Regions from separate parts of the Homo sapiens genome. Here region 1 is linked to region 2. The links are contacts of gene promoters, found by promoter capture Hi-C in blood cells and fetal thymus (Javierre and others, 2016). All regions are on one chromosome and are shown on one strand. The core of a region is centred on a gene start or on the middle of the fragment in contact, and the rest is flanking DNA. Distances in the headings are between cores, read along the strand shown.

The links. Contacts are between HindIII fragments. The CHiCAGO score rates a contact against its expected background, and 5 or more counts as called.
Region 1: a contact is called between a fragment that was not itself captured here and the fragment with the promoter of UAP1 in region 2, in 1 of 17 cell types (monocytes). The highest score is 5.1, in monocytes.

The regions. Positions count from the first base shown.
Region 1 is chr1:162,327,071-162,332,441 of GRCh38, reverse strand. The region is part of intron 4 of NOS1AP (nitric oxide synthase 1 adaptor protein); the gene reads right to left. Among named protein-coding and RNA genes, the nearest start is that of MIR556, 13 kb to the left of the region's middle. The HindIII fragment of the contact is 1,212 bases long and covers 1,401-2,612 here.
Region 2 is chr1:162,558,639-162,563,779 of GRCh38, reverse strand. It overlaps UAP1 (UDP-N-acetylglucosamine pyrophosphorylase 1), which reads right to left and starts at 2,058. Exons shown (of 11, transcript NM_001324116.5): 1 at 2,003-2,058. It overlaps UAP1-DT (UAP1 divergent transcript), which reads left to right and starts at 2,427. Exons shown (of 3, transcript XR_426859.4): 1 at 2,427-2,542; 2 at 3,128-3,305. RefSeq lists a silencer at 1,570-2,469. The HindIII fragment of the contact is 14,107 bases long and covers 953-5,141 here.

The sequences.
Region 1 (5,371 bases), core at 757-3,256, 230 kb after region 2:
TCCCAGCAGCCAGGGTCACAACAGGAACAGGACAGAAAAAGCCCCTGAACTCATGGAGCTTACACGTAGACAATGCAAATAAGCAAATATAAAATAAGTGCTATGAAGAAAAATAAGGCAGACTAAGGGATGGAGCATGATGGGGGCTATTTTAGACAGGGTAGCCAGGGAGGTCACACTGAGAGGCTGAGATCTGAATGGGGTAAGGGAGACAGTCACTGAGACACCTGGGCCAAACCATGGCAGGAAGTGGGAATAGCAAGTTTACAAGCCCTGCAGTGTTCAGAAGGTATTAAAAGCATTCAAGGAACACCCAGGGAGGCTCAACGGAGTGTGGTTCAAGTGGAGTATGGTCAGCAACAAGGTAATAGATGCAGCCAGAGGCCAAAATGTAGAAGGCTTTGAAGGTCGTGGCTTATATTCTACGTGAGATGAGAAGCCATCGGCTTTTAAGCAGAGGACTGACTTGCTTATGCTTTAAACTAAAGGATCATTCTGGCTGCTTGGGGTGGGCAGAGGTAGGAACAAGGGGAGGCTGGAGAAAGGGGGAAAATTATAAGCAAGGCCCTAGAGGCTGCATCTTAAGATGGCTTAGGACAGGGCCCCCCCAGGGCCTCCAGGTCTGACTGCTGTGGGGTCGGTGCAGGGAGTTGGAGCGGGTGCATCAGTGGAATTAGTTTTGGGCAGTCCAAGGAGTGTATTGCTCTTGGTAGCACCTAAGAGGCCACATCATTTCTGCAAAACATTTTTCACCACTAACAACACTGATGGCTTTCATTCAAGGAGTTAACAGGTCTGATTTGTTTTAGTGTAGGTCTGTGCTGTATAGAAGAAAGAGAATGGGATTGAGAGTCTACAACTTCATCTACGACTTTGCCACTTACTAAAAAATAAGTTATGTCACCCCTCAGAGGCTCAGTTTTGTTATCTGTACAATGGGACTACTAATAGTAACCCTTCCAAGAGTTATTGAGGAGGTAGAATAGTTAGTAAAATGCCATCTTACATCCCCTTACTGATATAGCCTCTAAACAGCCTAGTAACTGAGATTCTTGCCACAGGACCCCAAGAAGCCTGGGAGGAAAGTCCAAAAGAAAGGTGGGCACAGAGAGGAAAACAACACTGTGAAAAAACCCAAGTTCACCTTGGGGACTGTAGTTTCTCTGCTACACTCAGCTAGCAGGCATTTCAGTACATCTCACATGTCTATCATCTCTAAATGGTTCTGAAATAGAGGCTGTTTAGTGTGGTTTCCAGTCCCCTATCCTTCTAATGATGTCAAACTGTCTTCCTAACATCAAAGGGACAAATCTACAATTGTATCTCAGCATCTCCTGCCTGAGTTCCAGGCCCATTCAGCCAACCTTCCTGGACATCTCCTCCTGAATGGTTCTCAAGCTTCTCAAATTCCTCATACCCCCGAGTGAATTCATCATATTCCCCATAATTCTCCATGTCCTATCTTGATAAGGGGACACCATACCTACTCAAGCCAGAAACCCAGGTGTCATTCTCAACAGCTTCCTCCATTGTTCCCCAATAGCCATCACTCAGGAGCAAGTTCCTTGCAGACTCGCTCCCTAATATGTCTCTGATTTATGTTTTTCTCTTCAACTCCAAGCTATTGATCATCTAGAGTTCTCATTTTTCACCTGGATTTTTACAACATCCTGTAAACAGTGTGCTGCTCTGCTTCCTAACTCACCTATTGTCAACCCATTCTCTACATTGCCAGCAAAGTGTTATTTTTAAAAAAGACAAATTACATCCCATCATTTTCCTCTTAAAGCCATCCAAAGGCTTCCTACTGCTTTTAGGATAAAGTCCAAACTCCTTAGCATGGTGTACCTACCTTTCTGCAGTCATCTCTCTCCAGAGTCCTGACCTACACAGGCCTGCAGAACTAGGTGTGTGCATCTTCCCAATTCTGCAACTGCTGTGAACACCTTTGATGGCCGCCAAGACTTGGTTCAGAGCAGCCTTCCCCTCCCTTTTCTTCAGCAGTCTGAGTTGCTGAATACCCTGGGGCTCAACGTTGCCACAGCACATATCTCACACTATGATGTTTTTACATGTGCTCCTTGAAGGAACAAGGAACACATCTTGGTATCCCCAGTGCCAGCACAGTGATTGGCACATGGGAGGTTCCTTGCCTGCTTAGAAGGGAGGGAGGTGTTCCAGCTGTCATTAATGCTCATCTATAATGTGATCTGCCTGGCTATTCATTTTCCCCAAGGAAGTCAGATCCAGTTAGTTCAGCATCATACGTAAAACTTCTTGGATTCTTTAGTTAACTTATTCTTATGTAATACCCTAAGGACTGAGAACTGGATTTAAAACTGATACAGCAGATTTGAATGCAAACTGGCATGCCCACAAGACACAGAGATGTGGAAGGAACAGAGGAACGGCAGTAAGCCAAGGTTAACTTAACCTTAACAGATAAAGCATCTTTTCAGAAAATCTGATGAGAACTGTACATGGATGCAGCCACTGCCTTTGGACCACAGCTCTCTGGAGACTGCTCTGCTATATCTGATTTCAGAAACTTAGCGTGTTGTTATTAAAAGTAAATAATCTCTAGCTAACCAAAAAGTCAGCTAGTTAAAGCTTAGAAAAGTTTCCACCAACATAACCAAGAGGCAGAAAGTTTTTCCATGCGACCTCATTCATCAACAAACTAATAAATCCGCAAATTAATGTCTCTTGGGTCCAAATTTCCAGATCAAGAAATACATTCCAAGAACCCTTATTTCTCCATTACTTGGTTTTCTTAAGCACTGTGATTGTGGGGGTGGTAGAAATTGGGGGAGAGTAGAGGAAGGTGAGTGCTCAAGAGAATAGGAAAGATTTCCCTTTTTCTTTCCTTCTTCATCTTTACCCTTAAGTCAGTCTAGCCTAGTTCTGATAATCCTGCTTCCAAAAAGTACCTTAGTCAATTTTCCCAACTTTCACTATAATTATAAAGAGTAGGATACCAAAGTAGTTCATATAATGTTAATAAGGTTTTATTCCCCCTTCAACTTTCCTAAAATTTCTTCTCCTTTAAATTTCTTTTCTCTCTCTCTCTCTCTCTCTCTTTTTTTCTTGGTGAAATCTTGGCTCACTGCAACCTCTGCCTCCCAGGTTCAAGTGATACTTGTGCTTCAGCCTCCTGAGTAGCTGGGATTATAGGTGTAAGCCACCACAGCTGGCCCTAAAATTTCTTACTTTTATTTCAAAATATGTATAGCATTATAATTTTTACTTACTAACAGAACTGTTATGCTTTTACACAGTAATAAACCTTTCTGCAGATTCATCATATGTCCACAGACTTACCATAAATGACTGAAAGAAAAACATTATCTGGAAGAAACTGGATTTTGGGTTTATCATCATGCTGGAATTTAGGTTGACAACGTGATTTTAAAAACAACTAGATTCACCACCAATACCCCCCTTCTCAAACTATTCATCTATAGGTAAACTCGCTTCTCTTAAGATCATAGAAAAACAACAACAACAGCAGCAACAACAATTTAGAGTAGAAAGAAACCTATGGGGTCATAAGGCCTGGATACAAGCCAGCATCTCTGTCTGTCAGGATTCATCACTGATAGGCAATTCACTCTCTAACAAAGTATCTGATCCCTTTTTAAGAGGTTCTAGTTACCAGGAAATTTTCCCTCATGTTGACTGGAATTCTGCCAACAGGAATGCAGTGGAGGAAAATGGCTGAGAACACTGGCCCTGAGGGGGACAGACCTGGATTTCAGCCCAAGCTTTGCCACTTACTAGCTGGGACACCCTGGTCATTATCTCAACCCCCTTCTTGTTCTTCACCTGTGAAACAGGTATGATCATTGTGCTGTACCTCACTCATGCTAGTAAGGTTTAAAGAATGAGTATGTGCAGAGGGGTCAGCTTACAGCAAATGGTTAATAAATGTGAACTGCTCTAATTACTGCCACACTACTGCTCTAGTTCCATCCTTAGGGATCTCAGAGAACAAGGCTACTCCTCTTCCAAATGGCCAACATTTTAATATATGGAAACAATATCATGTTTATATTTACTCCTTTCTTAAGTTTATTTTAAGTTCCGGGGTACATGTGCAGGATGGACGGGTTTGTTACATAGGTAAATGTGTGCCATGGTGATTTGCTGAACCTATCAACCCATCACCTAGGTATTAATCCCAGCATGCATTAGCTATTCTTCCTGATGCCCTCCCCACTCTCCGACTCCTCTGCACTCCTTTCATTTTTAAAGTGAATTACTTCTTCCTTCAACAGTTTCTCAGTTGGCTCATTTTCCAAGTCCCTTATTTCTCTGGCAGGTTTGCACTGTGGAAAGAGCATGGGCTTGGGGATGAGAAAGATCCAGGTTCAAGTCTTAGCTTTGCCATCTTCTAGCTGCTGGCCTGAGGCAAAAAACTCAGTTACATAATCCTTCATTTCCTCATCTAAAATAGGCATATTAATGACTTCTTCATGGTATTGTTTTAAGCATTAAAACACACATACCACATTTTACACAATGCCCAACACATGTTAAGTTGCTTGCTCAATAAATATGAGTTCCATCTTCTCTTAACTTTTTCCGTACATATTCCAACTTGCCAGTGACTATCTTAAAATGCAGCTCACAGAACTGAACTCATTTGTGAGGGATCTGAACAGCACAGAGTATATTTGGATAAATATTTTCTATGCCCTAGAACTGAATTTTTAGCAAAGCATCTCTGATCATGTTTTTTTTCTTCTGTTATAACATCTCATTGCTGGTTCACACTGTAGTCTACTCAAATGCTCAAAGCTAATTTGCGCAACAGCTGTAAGGCAGATTTCCTGAACATACTTGGGTAACTGGTTTTTTAGGACTAGCTCTCAGTGTTCATGATTTCCTTTTCCAAGTTCTCACAGACCATCTGCTTAATGATCTCTTCTAGAATTCTGCCCAGGAGCAATGACAAATTCACTAGTTGGTAATTCCTGATGCAGGTTTGCCCCCTTTCTAAAAACTGCAATATTTTATTTTTGCAATCTTTTTGTTTCTTCTCCATCCCTCATGATTTTGCAAAAGATGACCAATCACTATTTTGCAATCATATTTTTCAGGAACCCAGAAGCCAGTGATTCAGGCCTGGACACATGGTAGTGAGGAATACCTTCCTTTTTCCTCTTGGTTTTGAACTTCGGTTTTTTAAAATTACATATGTTCTAGTGTTTCTAATTTGAAGATCAGTTCTCTACTTGAGAAGAAAAAAACCAAGACAGTTAGAAAAATGGGATTGAGATTTTCCCCTTGCCATGTGCCAACTCTCTCTTCCTTCACACCCCTTTTTCTCTCATCTTCAGCCTTTTCCATAAGCCTAATGCATTCAGGG
Region 2 (5,141 bases), core at 809-3,308:
AACATATTACTATAACATTTTAAGATATAAACCAAACTTTTCCTAAAAGATCATTAGATACTCCTCCACCTTCAGACACTTGGGAAAATGAATCCATGCAAATAAGATACCTCATAGGGCCGGGCGCGGTGGCTCACGCCTGTAATTCCAGTACTTTGGGAGGCCGAGGCGGGCGGATCATGAGGTCAAGAGATGGAGACCATTCTGGCCAACATGGTGAAACCCCATCTCCACTAAAAATACAAAAATTAGCTGGGCATGGTGGCACGCGCCTGTAGTCCCAGCTACTCAGGAGGCTGAGGCAGGAGAATCGCCTGAACCGGGGAGGCGGAGGTTGTAGTAAGCCGACATCACGCCACTGAACTCCAGCCTGGCGACAGAGTGAGACTCTCCGTCTCAAAAAATAAAAATAAAAAAAAAAAGGGTACCTCATAGGTTAAACTTTGATATCTGGGCGTAAACCACTGGTAACATGTGTTCATCTACATGTTGTATAATGTTCATAATGTAACGACCATACTTGAGTTTTGGACAAGCACAATTCATCTATTATATTTATTTGAGGCAGATATAAGCACCTTCATGCCACAAAAATAGTAGCATGTTTCCCATTAACGATGTTTAGAGGCACGTGTAATGGTAAGCAGCAATTAACAGAAGAGTTAAAAGATATGGATTTTTATTTTGACAACCGAAATCTGAAAAAGTTGAAAATCTGCTCGAGAAATTATGACAAAACTTGGTACATGCCCACAGCCTAATCCATCTGCATCAAAATATATGAAAAATTTGGTAATAATCTACCATTATCAAATATATTTTTATTAGAATTTAAATACCAGTATTAAAGAAATCCAGTATTTCTCCCTCCTTTTCTGGCTTCCCCCACCCAGCCCCTATCTCTGCTGGTATACGTATGCCCTCGAAATGAATAAGTAAACCTCTTAAAGCTTTTGAAAAACAGTATCAGAGTTGAGACATAACCACCAACTGAATCCTATAAATGCTTGGCAGCACAGCCTATGAAGTCTTTCTTTGCTCCAGCTAAGTGAGCCAACTGACTAACCGTGAAGGAATAGACAACTGCCTTGAGTTTCCGGCGAACTCTTGGATCCACACCCAGTGAATTTCACCTAAAAGTCCTTAAACTTTTGCAATACCAAATGACACACACATATGATCATAATCCTATTACCTGATTTCAGATTTCATAAACCATGTAGAAGTAAGTGTAGCACAGCGACAGGCCAAAGTTCAAGCAGCCATATGTTCAGCATACGTGTGCTCAGCCCTCCAATACCATCCTTCTGCTTGGCCAAGAGAGGGGAAACCCAGAAATTTCAATTCTCTCTCACTACCAGTATCATGGCAAACCAAACCAAAAAAAAGAAAGAAAAAAGTGGCAAGCAAACAGGTTTTGTCCCACTGTCCTGTCCTCCAAATGTATCCCCTGTCTTTGTCAGACCTCTCAAATCTTTTCCTCATATATTCAAGACACACCAACTCGCTTCCACCTGACAGTGCCAACGATCTCCTGTCCCACTACAGGCCCCCACACTTGGTATAACTGTCCACAAGGCCCTAGCCTGAGAGCCTCGAGGTCTCTACTGCCCACCCGGGAGAGGCCCCACTCCCAACCCCACACGCCTACACGACCCCCTCGGACTCAGACACTGGCCCAGACCTCCTCCCACAACGCCCCCAGTCCATCTGGGGCGCGCTCATTCCATCCCTGGCCCCGCCATCCACCCGGCTGCCCAGCCCACACACCCTCTCGCGGGGTGGCGGAGGATGGGGTGCGACTGCGGGGCGCACGGGCTGGGGTGTGTGTCTGCGGGCGAGCGGGAGGCTCCTCGGCGTGTGCTCGGCTGCCCGCGCTGTGCACGTTCGTGCGACGCGTGTCCACGTCTGAGCGCGTGGCCGTGTGTGCGGTGGGGCCAGGCCCTCCGCCCGCCCGGGTCCCGAGCCCCGCCGTCTCCTCGCTGGGCTGGGAGCCCCTCACCTTTCTCGGCGCGACCGCAGCTACGACCGTCTCCAGCTCCTTCCGCGCGGCCACTCATCGGCGTCCCGCGCTCGCTCCGAATATATACCCTCATCCGGGGGGCCGCGGCGGCGGGGCGGGCCGGGAGCGGGGGCCAAGTGGAGCGCCAGCCCCGGCCACCCCGCCCCTCTCGCCACGACTAGTGGCTGCCGACGCCTGAAGGAGTGGAAGCCGACCGCCCAGACACGTCAGCGCCGGGAGCACAGACGACGACGCGGACGCGGAGGCGGCCGCGGCCCGGGGCGCCGGGGCGGGGCTAGGGATGGGGGCCGGGCATGAAAGGAGTAACCCACCGGGCCGGGGCGGGGCCTAGTGCGTCACTCATTCTCTGGCCCAATGGGAATAGTTCTGGAGCGCAGTCGGCTGGCGTCCCGGTCCCTCCTGCGCACTAACTGAGGGTGAAGGATGTCGGTTGGGTCTGCTAGGAGGGGCCAGGAGCCGGCCGGCAGAGAGCGGCTCGTGGGTCCCAGGACCCCTGACGTCCCTAGGTTGTACTGGGAGGTGCGAGCCCGAGGCTCTTAGTCGGCCCAGCGGCACGGGGCACAAGCGGGCCACAGAGATGGGCAGGGAGCTGTGTCCCCAGGGTGGCGGATTTCCGAGCCACCCACGCGGGTGGTTGGGAAAGGGCGGTGGATTTTCCTGCGGAGAAACTTTCAGGGCGGGCCTGGCGCGCTCTCTGACCTTGGGCTAGTTATTTTGTGTGCAGTTCACAAGATGCCTGGCCGGGCTCCAAACTCGCTCTCTGTTTGGTTGTGTTTTGGCTCCCAAGAAGGCGAAGCCAGGCCTTTTTTCTTTTGCACAAACAGACAGGAAAGGAGAGAGGAAATGCAAGCAAAGGTAGTAGGTAACCTAAGGTAGTATAAGCCCGGGGTCATCTTTGTGAGTTTGCAGACTTAACGTCGCTAGGCCTCAGTACTCTGCAGAAAGATGGTGGAGGACCTAGATGACCTCCCAGGCCATTCCAGGACCAGTGTTTACAGTCCTGTTACATAACCTAGTGTGGGTGTGCACACACAGGTTATTATATGTTCAGCACTGTGCCCTTGGAAGCTATGTTTACATTTAAAGTTGTGTTGCATTTTGCAGCTTTTGCAAGAAGTGGAATATGTTGAAATACGAAAATACCTAGATTTAACATACCACCTATCATAAAGAGATTCAGGCGCCTTTCTTCTACTTTCTTGGGTGCAAAGGCCTTTTCATTCCCTTTACCAATTGCATAATCACCCACTGCCTCAAGTAACAACAGAAAAACTTAAACTTGGTAAGTAATGCTGGTAGATTTACATTCAGGAGATTGAATACTCTCCATCTCTCATGATCCTAGAACTTCCTTCGTTTCTTTGAAAGAAGAATAGTGTAGTGATTGGTTTATAGTGTAGTGATTGGTTTCTTAATCATGGGATCTGAAGACAATTTCAGCTTTATTGCTTGTGATCTTTGGCAAGCTACTTGTGCTATCAGTTTTCTCATCTATAAAAAACAGACAATAAAGATGAAAATGCCATTTGGTGGTTGTATTAAACCAATCGATATAAATGAAGTATGTAAAACAGTAAACACTAAATAACCTTTAGTTATTATTTATTATTGAGCACTTATTAATTCAAACTAGGAGACCCAGATTCAAAATCAGTCTACGCTTACTAACTGTGTGACTTTGGGTAAGTCATTTAACCACTCCAAACTCCAATGTCCTTTTATGAAATGAAGCTAATACCTATTTCACATGGGTATAGTAAAAAATGAGAAAGAACCTAAGATAATGTCTGGAATATTATAGGCATTCTATAAGTCATAGATGAATGACTGAGTAAAGAGCAAAATTATTAGTTAGCAATCCTTTAAAGAAAAAAGATAGAACTGAGGTCCAGCTCAATGTTTTTAATGAACTACTATAAAATCACATTTGTACTTTTACCCTTTTTTGCTGAAGTTTCATTTGTTTGTTATTCTGGTTACTAGGCATAAGAGGGGCCATAATCTCATCTTGCCAGCTAAATGTCCAGAAATGTCTAACACTAGAGTTATTTCTGTCCTTCGAAATACTTTTTATATACATGGTCTTTTAAGAGCTGATTGAAGAAAACAAGGCAACGATGTTCACACTACCTATGATTTTTTGACATTACACCAAAGGTATCAGCTAATGAAGTTAGACAACAGAAATCCTAAGAGGCTTATAAATTAGAAAAAATATATAAGAATTAAAAAATTATTTTTTAAGAATTTTAAAAAGTCATAAAACTACTTCGACTTGCAAATGACAAGAGAGAATACCTGGAAAGCCCTTGAGAGTCAACAATAAGACTAACAAACCACAGAAAAATTTTGGTTAGTGTATTAGTCCGTTTTCACACTGCTATCAAGAGATACCCAAGACTGGGTAATTTATAAAGAAAAGAGGTTTAATTGACTCACAGTTCTGCATGGCTGCAGAGGCCTCAGGCAACTTACTATCCTGGTGGAAGGCACCTCTTCACAGGGCAGCAGGAGAGAGAATGAGTGCTGAGCAAAGGGGGAAGCCCCTTACAAAACCATCATATCTGCCAGGCGCGGTGGCTCACGCCTGTAATCCCAGCACTTTGGAGGCTGAGGCGGGCAAATCACGAGGTCAAGAGTTTGAGATCAGCCTGGCCAACATAGTGAAACCCTGTCTCTATTAAAAATACAAAAATTAGCTGGGTGTGGTGGCACGCACCTGTAGTCCCAGCTACTTAGGAGGTTGAGGCAGGAGAATCGCTTAAACCTGGGAGGCGGAGGTTGCAGTGAGCCTAGATTTCACCACTGCACTCCAGCCTGGATGACAGAGCGAGACTGTCTCAAAAAAAAAAAAAAAAAAACAGATCTAATGAGAACTCACTATCACGAGAACACTATGGCAGAAACCACGCCAGTGATTCAATTATCTCCACCTGGTCTGGCCCTTGACACATGAAGATTATTACAATTCAAGGTGAGATTTGGGTGGGGACACAGAGACAAACCATATCAGTAAGGTAGCAAGTTATAAAATGAACATATAGAAATCAATAGCTCTCATATACACACATTATAACATTTAGAAGACACGATGGTGGAGAAAATCCCATTTATAACA